Linked DNA regions of Homo sapiens: all the other regions are linked to region 2. Evidence: promoter capture Hi-C in human tissues and cell types (Jung and others, 2019). All regions are on one chromosome and are shown on one strand. Each heading gives the region's core, a stretch centred on a gene start or on the middle of the fragment in contact. The rest is flanking DNA. Distances are from core to core; before and after follow the strand shown.

What was found. The method cuts DNA at HindIII sites, captures the fragments that hold promoters and counts their contacts. A contact is called where the count stands out against the background at its distance.
Region 1: a contact is called between a fragment that was not itself captured here and the fragment with the promoter of RSPO3 in region 2, in 2 of the 25 tissues and cell types used here (H1 embryonic stem cells and bladder).
Region 3: a contact is called between a fragment that was not itself captured here and the fragment with the promoter of RSPO3 in region 2, in 2 of the 25 tissues and cell types used here (H1 embryonic stem cells and thymus).

Annotation. Positions count from the first base shown.
Region 1 is chr6:126,503,527-126,506,985 of GRCh38, reverse strand. No RefSeq gene overlaps it. Among named protein-coding and RNA genes, the nearest start is that of MIR588, 21 kb to the right of the region's middle. The HindIII fragment of the contact is 5,823 bases long and covers 1-3,459 here.
Region 2 is chr6:127,116,944-127,120,091 of GRCh38, reverse strand. It overlaps RSPO3 (R-spondin 3), which reads right to left and starts at 1,421. Exons shown (of 5, transcript NM_032784.5): 1 at 803-1,421. The coding sequence starts at 899. It overlaps LOC105377989 (a long non-coding RNA gene), which reads left to right. Exons shown (of 14, transcript XR_002956387.2): 4 at 1-1,191. The HindIII fragment of the contact is 6,946 bases long and covers 1-3,148 here.
Region 3 is chr6:126,549,616-126,552,948 of GRCh38, reverse strand. No RefSeq gene overlaps it. Among named protein-coding and RNA genes, the nearest start is that of MIR588, 67 kb to the right of the region's middle. The HindIII fragment of the contact is 6,525 bases long and covers 1-3,333 here.

The DNA.
Region 1 (3,459 bases), core at 274-2,773, 610 kb after region 2:
ATTTCAGCAAGATGGTCTTAAACTCTGATATCCTTTCTTCTGCTTGGTCAATTCGGCTATAGATACTTGTGTATGCTTCACAATGTTTTCTTGCTATGTTTTTCAGCTCCATCAAGTCATATATGTTCCTCTCCAAACTGGTTATTCTAGTTAGCAGCTCCTGTAACCTTTAATCAAGTTTCTTAGTTTCTTTGCATTGGGTTAGAACATGCTCCTTTAACTCAGTGGAGTTTGTTATTACCAACCTTCTGAAGCCTACTTCTGTCATTTCATCCATCTCATTCTCTGTCCAGTTCTGCACCTTGCTGTAGAGGTGTTGCGATCATTTGGAATAGAGGCACTCTGGCCTTTTGAGTTTTCAGCATTTTTTTTTTCATTGACTCTTTTTCATCTTCATGAGTTTGTCTAGTTTCAATCTTTGAGGCTGCCGACCCTTGGATGGGTTTTGGTGGGGACTTTTTTTGTTGATGTTGTTGTTGCTGCTTTCTGTTTGTTTTTCTCTCAATAGTCACGTCCCTCTTCTGTAGGGCTACTGCAGTTTGCTGGGGGTTCACTTCAGGTCCTATTCCTCTGGTTCACTCCTGCATGTGGATATGTCACTCGAGGAGGCTGGAGAACAGCAAAGATGGGTGCCTGCTCCTTCCTCTGGGATCTCTGACCTCAAGGGGCACTGATCCAATGCCAGTAGGAATGCTCCTACATAGGGTGTCTGACAACCCCTGTTGGAGGGTCTCACCTAGTTGGGTGGCATGGGAGCAGGACTCATTTAATGAAGCACTTTGACTATCCCTTGGTGGAGGGGGTATGCTTCACTGGGGGGAAACCCACTCATCTGGGCTGCCCAGATTCCTCAGACTAGCAGGAGGAAAGACTAACTATGCTGGTCTGTGGAGATTATGGCCACCCCTCCCCCTAGAGGCTCATACCCAGGGAGATCAGAGTTCTGTCCCTGAGTCCCTGGCTAGAGTTGTTGAAGTTCCTGCAGGGAGGCCCTGCCCAGTAAGGAGGGATGGGTCAGGGTTGGGCCTGAAGAGGCACTCTGGTCACAGTCTGCCAAAGCCAGTGTGTTGGGCTGTGGGGATACCTCTTGGGACCAATCTGTCTAGCCTCCCTGGCTCCAGCAGGGGAAAAGCATGGCCTGAAGCTGAAGAGATGGCTGCCGCCCTTTCCCCACCCTGGGATCTTAGGCAGCTATCAGTCCCAGTGTTGGCTGCTACCCCTCCCACAAGGAGCTCAAATGGCTTAGACAGCCCAGTGTCCTCCGGAAAAGAAAGCTCTGGAGGGTCAGGCCACTCTTTTTCTTCAAAATAAGTAGGGGGTGCAGAAGGGTAGGGATGAACCTCTTCCTCCTTTGCTGCTTTAGCTTTAGCTGGCAAACAAACCTGCTCTGTCATCTCTTCTGTTATTTCATTATACTTTCCTTCCTTTTATTATTAGTGTGAAAAGGTTCCAACGTAGAACAAGCCAGAGCCCACACTTGTCCCATTGTTACCCTGATGCTTCCAAGCTCCCCTCACCACAGGGATTGCTTATGAGTACTCAGGTGTCCTCCAGCTTAGTTCCACATTCTCCAACCGTCGCTCCAGTGACCCTTTGACCTGGGTTCGAGACTCCACGTATGGGCACCACTTGCCAAGACCAGCTCGGTTGTGGAGACACTAACCCAGCAGCGCTAGAGGAATTAAAGACACACACACAGAAATACAGAGTGTGGAGTGGGAAATCAGGGGTCTCACAGCCTTCAGAGCTGAGAGCCTTGAACAGAGATTTACCCACATACTTATTGACAGCAAGCCAGTCATAAGATTTACTAAAAGTATTCCTTACGGGAAATAAAGGGATGGGCCAAAATAAAGGGATGGGCTCTGGCTAGTTATCTGCAGCATAAACATGTCCTTAAGGCACAGATAGCTCATGCTATTCTTTGTGGTTTAAGAATGGCTTAAGCAGTTTTCCGCCCTGGGTGCGCCAGGTGTTCCTTGCCCTCTTTCCGGTAAACGGACAACTTTCCAGCATGGGCGTCGAGACCATAACGAGCGTGTCACAGTGCTGCAGAGATTTTGTTTATGGCCAGTTTTGGGACCAGTATATGGCCAGATTTTGGGGCCTGTTCCCAACATATAAGTTGTAAATTACTTTAGAATAAATAATGTATATATGTAATTATATATAATTTATGTTTTAGTCTTATTGTGAAGATAGTAATTTGAATATAAATATTCAATAATTGTATACTTTAATAATTATAAGAGAAAAAAGAGTTCTTACTTATAATGTTAAGATATTAGCTCCAAGAATGAAATTAAATGAGTGGGTATATTGAAGAGTGTTATGAAGCTATATTAGAACCACTTGATGAAAAAGAGGTAGCCCCTTTGTTCAGAAATATGATGTGATGGCAAAAGACAATGGAAAAAATATGAAACGACTTTCTTTTGTGCTTTTTGTCAGTGATAATTTTAAGACTGGAAAGTGGAACAAACATTTGCAGGAGTAAAAGAAAACCCCAGGGCCGGGCGCGGTGGCTCACGCCTGTAATCCCAGCACTTTGCAAGGCCGAGGTGGGCGGATCACAAGGTCAGGAGATCGAGACCATCCTGGCTAACACGGTGAAACCCCGTCTCTACTAAAAAATACAAAAAATTAGCTGGGCGTCATGGCGGGCGCCTGTAGTCCCAGCTACTCGGGAGGCTGAGGCAGGAGAATGGCATGAGCCTGGGAGGCGGAGCTTGCAGTGAGCCGAGACAGCGCCACTGCACTCCAGCCTGAGCTACAGAGCGAGACTCTGTCTCAAAAAAAAAAAAAAGAAAAAGAAAAAAAAGAAAACCCCAGGTAGTAAAATAAATGGTCAGAACACCTAATGAAATTAACTCAAGTTTTTGGCCCAAAGATCTACATCTCAAATTACTGAGAGAATTGGTAGGTGTAGTTGCTGAACATACTTACATAAATTTTTATAAACTCTGATTAATATAGAACAATAGGACAAATTACCAAGATAGGCAAATATGTTTCTGATCTTCCAAGAAAAAGAATAAAACAGAAATTATTGACACACTCAATTTAATTTCAGGAAAAAGTATTTTACTGATTGTTAAACAAAAGACAGGTCCAAAAATAGAGGGAAGTTATGATATCTTGAAAGCCTTATAAATAAACTTTACAAAACCAATGCAATTTCTTTTCTTTTTTTTTTTTTTTTTTTTTGAGCCGGAGTCTCACTCTGTCACCCAGGCTGGAGTGCAGTGGCGCTATCTCGGCTCACTGCAAGCTCCGCCTCCCGGGTTCACACCATTCTCCTGCCTCTGCCTCCCAAGTAGCTGGGACTACAGGCGCCCACCACCACGTCCAGCTAATGTTTTTGTATTTTTAGTAGAGATGGGGTTTCACCGTGTTAGCCAGGATGGTCTCGATCTCCTGATCTCATGATCCACCCACCTCGGCCTCCCAAAGTGCTGG
Region 2 (3,148 bases), core at 172-2,671:
AGGAGGCGAATCTTTAGGGAGACCCCACTCTCTGTACGTGTGTGTCCCAGGGGACACACTTGAAAGGGCCAGAGATGGTACAGACGCTCACATGTGACAAGAGAGAACCTGGAAACTCCGCACCTCCGGCTCCCCACAGCTGGGGTTTTGCTGTCTTCAACCCTCGGGCGGGGGACGTCCGGCAGCTCTGCAAACGCGCAGACACGCGAACCCCATCGCCTCGCGCGCCCTTTGGCTCCGCTGGTGCGTGTCGGGGATGCGGCCGCGCAGGCGCTCGCTCCCTGGCTTCCTGGCCGGGTAGCGGGCGTTCGGCTACCGGAGTCCAGCCTAAGGGCCCAGCCGAGGTCTCCCCGCGCGAGGCGGTTGCGCTAGGTGAGCGGGTACCGCGGCCGCGCCTCCCTTGTCATTTACTCAGCGGTCAGAGGCATCCTGCGTCTGGGAGTCCCAAGTGCCTTCGGCTGGGTGCCCCTGTCCGATCCTCAAAAGGAAAGCACAAATCCCGGGTGCGAGTCTAACCCAGGACCGAACTTTCCCGCGAACCTGAAGTTACCATGGGGCGGGAGCCACCTTAGCGCCGCGTCCGCCCGCCCCTCGCACCGGCTAGGATGCTGCGGAAGGCAGGGGCGCCGAGAGGCAAGGGTGAAAGACGCCGTCCATACCCCCAAAGCCCGAACCTGCATCTCCTCTGCGAGGCGCAGGGCGGGAGGACCGCTGCAGTTGGGAGCCGGCTCCGGACAGGCAAAGCGACCCGACAGGTGAACGCGGCGGGAGGGAGCAAACGCGTAAAAAACCCTGCACTTACTTCTTCGCTGGCGCCTTCCCCGGGAGGCGTTTTGGCTGCCGATGTATTCCATAAAGTTCAAAATGATAAAAAGCCAAGAAATCAGTCGCAAGTGCATAGTAACCCAGTAATGCTTCCCTTCCTTTCTCCTCTTTCTTTTGATTGTTAATTATATTTAATGTTTTTAAAATATATGTAGGTGTTAGGCGTATATAGACAGTGCCCGAGCAGCGGGACTTCTCCTCTCACATCCGATAGGCGTGCTGTGATGGCAAGCGAAGTGGGGCGGGTGGACAGGGAAACCAACTATTGTACTTTCAAATTATCCAAGCACTGAACTGCGGCGGCTTCGCTGGGGTGGCTGGCATCGCCGCGAACCGGGGTTCCAGGAGCCGCCGGGGCGGCCGCAGGTAGCATGTTGTGCGGCAACTGCCGCAGGCGGGATCCGGGCGGGCGAGCGGCGGCGGCGGCGGCTGCAGCGGCGGCCCCTTGGGCTCAGAAGCTGCGGCGGCTGCGGCTGCAGCGGCGGGGGCCCCTGGAGCGCAGGGGAGCGGGCGCCGTCGGCACAGCGGCCATGGCCAAGGGGCGGCGGAGAGACCCCGAGCTGCTTCTGGCGTGCGCGAGCAGGAGACGCTCCAGTGTTGGGCTGGGCTCCCGGGAGCACCACATAGGGGAGGAGGAGGAGGAGGGCAGGGAGGGGGGAGGGAGAGGAGGGCAGGGAGGGGGAGAGGAGGGGGGATGGCTGTGGGGGGCGGGGGGGAGCTCGGGGGCGGGGAAGGAAACTGCTGGAGCAACAACCCTGAGCGACCTCAATAACTTTCAATTTCAAGAGGGAAAGAGGGAGCTGGAAAAGTACAGGCGTTGCGCTTTGGCAGAGGGACGGGAAGAGGCGCCTAAGGGGTCCCGGGTCTACAGCGCAGCATCTCTGGACACTGCAGTGACGGCCGGAGAATTCCAGCCAGAAGAATGGGGAAAGCAGTGCGTGCGAAGAGCCCCTCCAGAAGGGCAGCTCTGGCGGGGAGACTTGGGCGCACTGGGGCTGGCAGGCAGTGTTGAGGCCGAAGACCCCCCACCCATCCCAGTTCGGCTCCTCTCCGCGGCCTCAAGCTAGGCGCACCCGGCTGTCGGTGGCCGTGCGCCCCTGCGCCCTTGTGCCCCAGCGCCCCCACCCCATCCCCAGCGCCGGCGCGCAACTACCCTCTCCCCCTTGGCAGATCGCTGGAGAGTTTCTGGCTGCTGACTTGTTCCCGGCTTTCCTGACCTTCTCCTCTGTTGCCTTTCTCCCTTTTTCTTTTTCTCTCTCTTTCTTTCTTTCTTTCTTTCTTTCTTTCTTTCTTTCTTTCTTTCTTTCTTTCTTTCTTTCTTTCTTTCTTTCTCTTTCTTTCTTTTCTTTCTTTCTTCCTTCCTCTTTCTTTGTCTTTCTTTCTTTCTTTCCTTCCTTCCTTCCTTCCTTCCTTCCTTCCTTCCTTCCTTCTTCTTTCTTTCTTTCTTTCCTTTCTTTCTTTCTTTTCGGCTGCAGTTGGTCGCCAGGCGGGTGGTGGGGAGGAAACTCTGTGGGTGCTGCCGGTCAGCTACTCTGAGGTTTACCTGCTCCGAGCGGGGAGGACCCAGAAGTGTGTGCGCTCAGGACCTTCCCGTTGGAAATGCAGCTGTGCTACGGCTTTCTTCCAAACCAAGGCTTTTCTGTGGCTTTGGAAGATTCCTTTCCCGCTCAGGCAATTCCCTCTATAGTCAGCTCGCCCCCCTTGGAGTTTTCTCTCCCACCCTCGGTCTCCCAGTGTTCTTGAGAGGATCTGTTGTACATTCTAATCTCGCATCTGGAAGACTGGGAATAAGATTTGGAAAGATTTTCCCAGTCTTGGGGAAGGAAGGGGAAGGTCCACTACTTTCTTATCTTCCCAGCCCAAGTGGAGGCCCAAGGCAGCAGAGAGTAAGATGCTCTGGCCCACCCAGGGATGGGAGAACAGAGGGCCGGCACCCCTGAGTGGGGCACACCCTGGCTGTCGTTAGTAAATGGTGAGCTTTCCACGTCTTTTCTCCGGTAGCACCAGCCGATGAACTTTTCAGTAATTACTGAAGAAGTATTTAGTCGAAAGTCACAAGCCTCAAGTGATTTTAACATAAGCCTGCCCTATGTATTATATTTAACAGAATATCTGAAGGACTACACTAGCACTACAGGTTAACACAGCAGCAAACTTCTGGGAGGTCACTTTGAAAGAGTCCCTGATTCATAGGTGCTTTGCTAATTTTTGTGCTCAAATAATTCAGTGTAAGTCAATTGCTAAAGCCTTGCAGAGTAGCAAGTGACACTTGCACTTCTATCTCCTTCCTCCATTTGTAATCCCTATTACTGGATTGCCTTCA
Region 3 (3,333 bases), core at 834-3,333, 570 kb after region 2:
TTTTATTTAAAATTTTGATGCTGTTATTCTAAACTTTACCTGACATTTTCTCCAAAATAGAATCCAAACTTTTTCTAATGAGTAGATTTTGGATCAATTTCCTCCAACTAAAACTATTTAAATATATACAAATTGAGCATCAAAACTGAAACATTTCTTCAGGGTTTTATATATTTTTTTTAAATAAAAATGTGACCTTTTCCTACTTGACTCTAAAATATTTTCTAGTTTACCCAACCATCCTTACTAAAATTATCTTCCCAGAAAGAAAATCTAGTCAAATTGGCAGGCTTTTGGTTAGATAAACCTAACTTTTAAATCTATCATCAAAACTTACATAAATTTAGAAAGTCCATCACTGGCCAGGCACGGTGGCTCACGCCTGTAATCCCAGCACTTTGGGAGGCTGAGGTGGGCAGATCACCTGAGGTCCGGAGTTTGAGACCAACCTGACCAACATGGAGAAACCCTGTCTCTACTAAAAATACAAAATTAGCCGGTTGTGGTGGTGCATGCTTGTAATCCCAGCTACTCGGAAAGCTGAGGCAGGAGAATCGCTTGAACCTGGGAGGTGGAAATTGTGGTGAGCTGAGATGGCGCCATTGCACTCCAGCCTGGGCAAGAGGAGTGAATCTCTTTCCCCCTCCCCTCTCCCAAAACAACAACAACAACAAAAAAAAAACAACAGTCCATCACTCACTGAATCCTGGCTTATATATCTATAAAATTGAGGCTAATGACTTTGAAATGTTGGTTTGAAGATTGGAGTTACATGTAAATTTAATTTTAATTGCCTTGCTCCTTTACTAATCACAAATGAAATGGCACATTACAGAATAATGCTCAAACTCCTTGGCTTGCCATCAAGGCCATTCATGAATGTGTCACAACTACATTTGCATTTCCCACCATCTCTGCAGCCCACATCCTCTAGCCACATTGGATTGTCTGATGCTTCCCAAACATATCTTATAACATCATGCCATTCTAATTTTGTTTGTGGCATTTGTTATCCATGAAATGCAAAAAGACTTCTGCACCTAAAGAAATCCACTCCTCTTTTAATGATCCACTCGACTATCTTCTTCTCTAGGGAACTTTACTTGATAGTCTCAGAAAATTTTCTATCTCTGGACTTCCACTGTTAATTTATATGTATGTTACAACACTTGTCATTATTCTCTTTTGTTAGTTGTTAAAATGTTGTTAACTCTTTCATAGCTGGTGTGGAAATAAAGACCCTATATTAATTATCTTTTTCTAAAACCAAGCACAGAGCTAGGCATATATGTCAGTTCAGGAACCAACACTGGAAAAATACTGTAAGTAATCAGTGGAAATCTTTGAGAAATGAAAACTTACCAAAATATGGAAAGTGATTAAATATTTTCAGAATGTATAAAAGATATTTCCAGATCAGTAAATTCTGCATTAGTCCATTGGAGATTCTGGAATAAACACCTTTAGGGTACTTCTAAAGAACACTGTGGTCACTAGGAACTTACAAGCTCACTACAAGAGAATGGTGTATACAAACTACATTTCATTATTGGTGCTCTTTAAGAGGGTAAACTCCACATTATCTTGATTTTAGGAAGACGTTTGAAAAAGCTTTTTAAGATGTCACTGACAGGAGGAAGAAATGTGGCCAGGATGATGATGATACTGACACGGGAGCAGGGCAGGGAGGTGCTGGGTAGAGATGGGTGGGGTCCCTGGCAAAGGCTCAATCCTCAAGCCTGGGCCCACGGACCTAAGTGAGAACAGGCACTCCTGTTTTCACGCCCAAATGTTGCATTTTCCAAGACCACTCTGGCCCGCCATGCCCCCATCCTGTGCTCATATAAACATGAGACCATAGGAGGCACAGACACAAGTGGCTGAATATCAAGAGGAGCAGAGGAACAGACCAGCAGACACCAGCAGACCAGCAACAACAGAACAACACAGCAGAGAAAGAGAGAAGAGGAAGGACATCTGGCTGAGGGGAGTTCAGCCAAAGGCAGTCGGAGAAGAGCCTGGTAGCTGGGCGGCCTGACTCCAGGGGAAGACCACCTTCCCACTCCATCCCCTGCTTTACACCTCCCCGTCCATCTCACTGAGAGCAACCTCCACCACTCAATAAAACCTTGCACTCATCCTTTGAGTCCACATGTGATCTGATTCTTCTGGTACACTGGGCAAGAGCTTGGGATATAGAAAGCTGTTGCACTAGCCCTCTGCCCTTGCGATAAGGCAGAAGGTCTAGTGAGCTGATTAACACAAGCCGTCTGTAGATGGCAAAGCTGAAAGAGCACACCGTAACACACACCTACTTGGGCTTCAGGAGTCACAGACACCCACCCCTAAACATTGCTGTGGGGACGGAGCCCAAAAGCGATCCCTATGGCCTCTGCACCTGCCTGTCTGCATGCTCCCCCTAGGGGTTTGAGAGCAGCAGGGTGACCAAAGGAGCCAGCCACACCCCTGTCACAGGACCTGCAAAGGGTATAAGGGAACTCTTCTGTTTCAATACTAAACTGGGGTCTGATTGCAGGCAGTGCCCTATGAGTATTGATTAATGGAGAAAACTCAACCAGGTGAATGAATTGTCTAGTGTGTGTCATTCAGTTTTGTGCTTATGGTTTTCTGGTAAGCATTTTTATCAGCTACTTGAGAAAAGACATAGGAGACAAGTTCATTATATTTGCTGATAAAATATAAGGAGGTACATTTTCTTTTTTTTTTTTTGAGACGGAGTCTCGCTCTGTCGCCCAGGCTGGAGTGCAGTGGCGGGATCTCGGCTCACTGCAAGCTCCGCCTCCCGGGTTCACGCCATTCTCCTGCCTCAGCCTCCCAAGTAGCTGGGACTACAGGCGCCCGCCACTACGCCCGGCCAATTTTTTGTATTTTTAATAGAGACAGGGTTTCACCGTTTTAGCCGGGATGGTCTCGATCTCCTGACCTCGTGATCCGCCCGCCTCGGCCTCCCAAAGTGCTGGGATTACAGGCGTGAGCCACCGCGCCCGGCCAAGGAGGTACATTTTCTGAGATAAGCTACTGGCATATGTCACCTCCCCTCTGCTCTATTTTGATAATCAAAAATGTTCCCCGACATTGCCAAATGTCTCCTGGGAGCAAAATCTCCCTTAGTTGAGAACTCCTGGGCTAGAATCAGGACGTGATCCTAACCAGATGAAACATATATAAATGCTTCATGAGGTAAAGAATGCACTATCTTTCTGGCTTAACTTTTTACGTTCTGTGCTTGAGACATAGTAGGCATTTATTGAATAGAGAAATGAGTGAGCGAATAATTGATTAAAACCCCAGATCTGAACTTATATTTTGAAA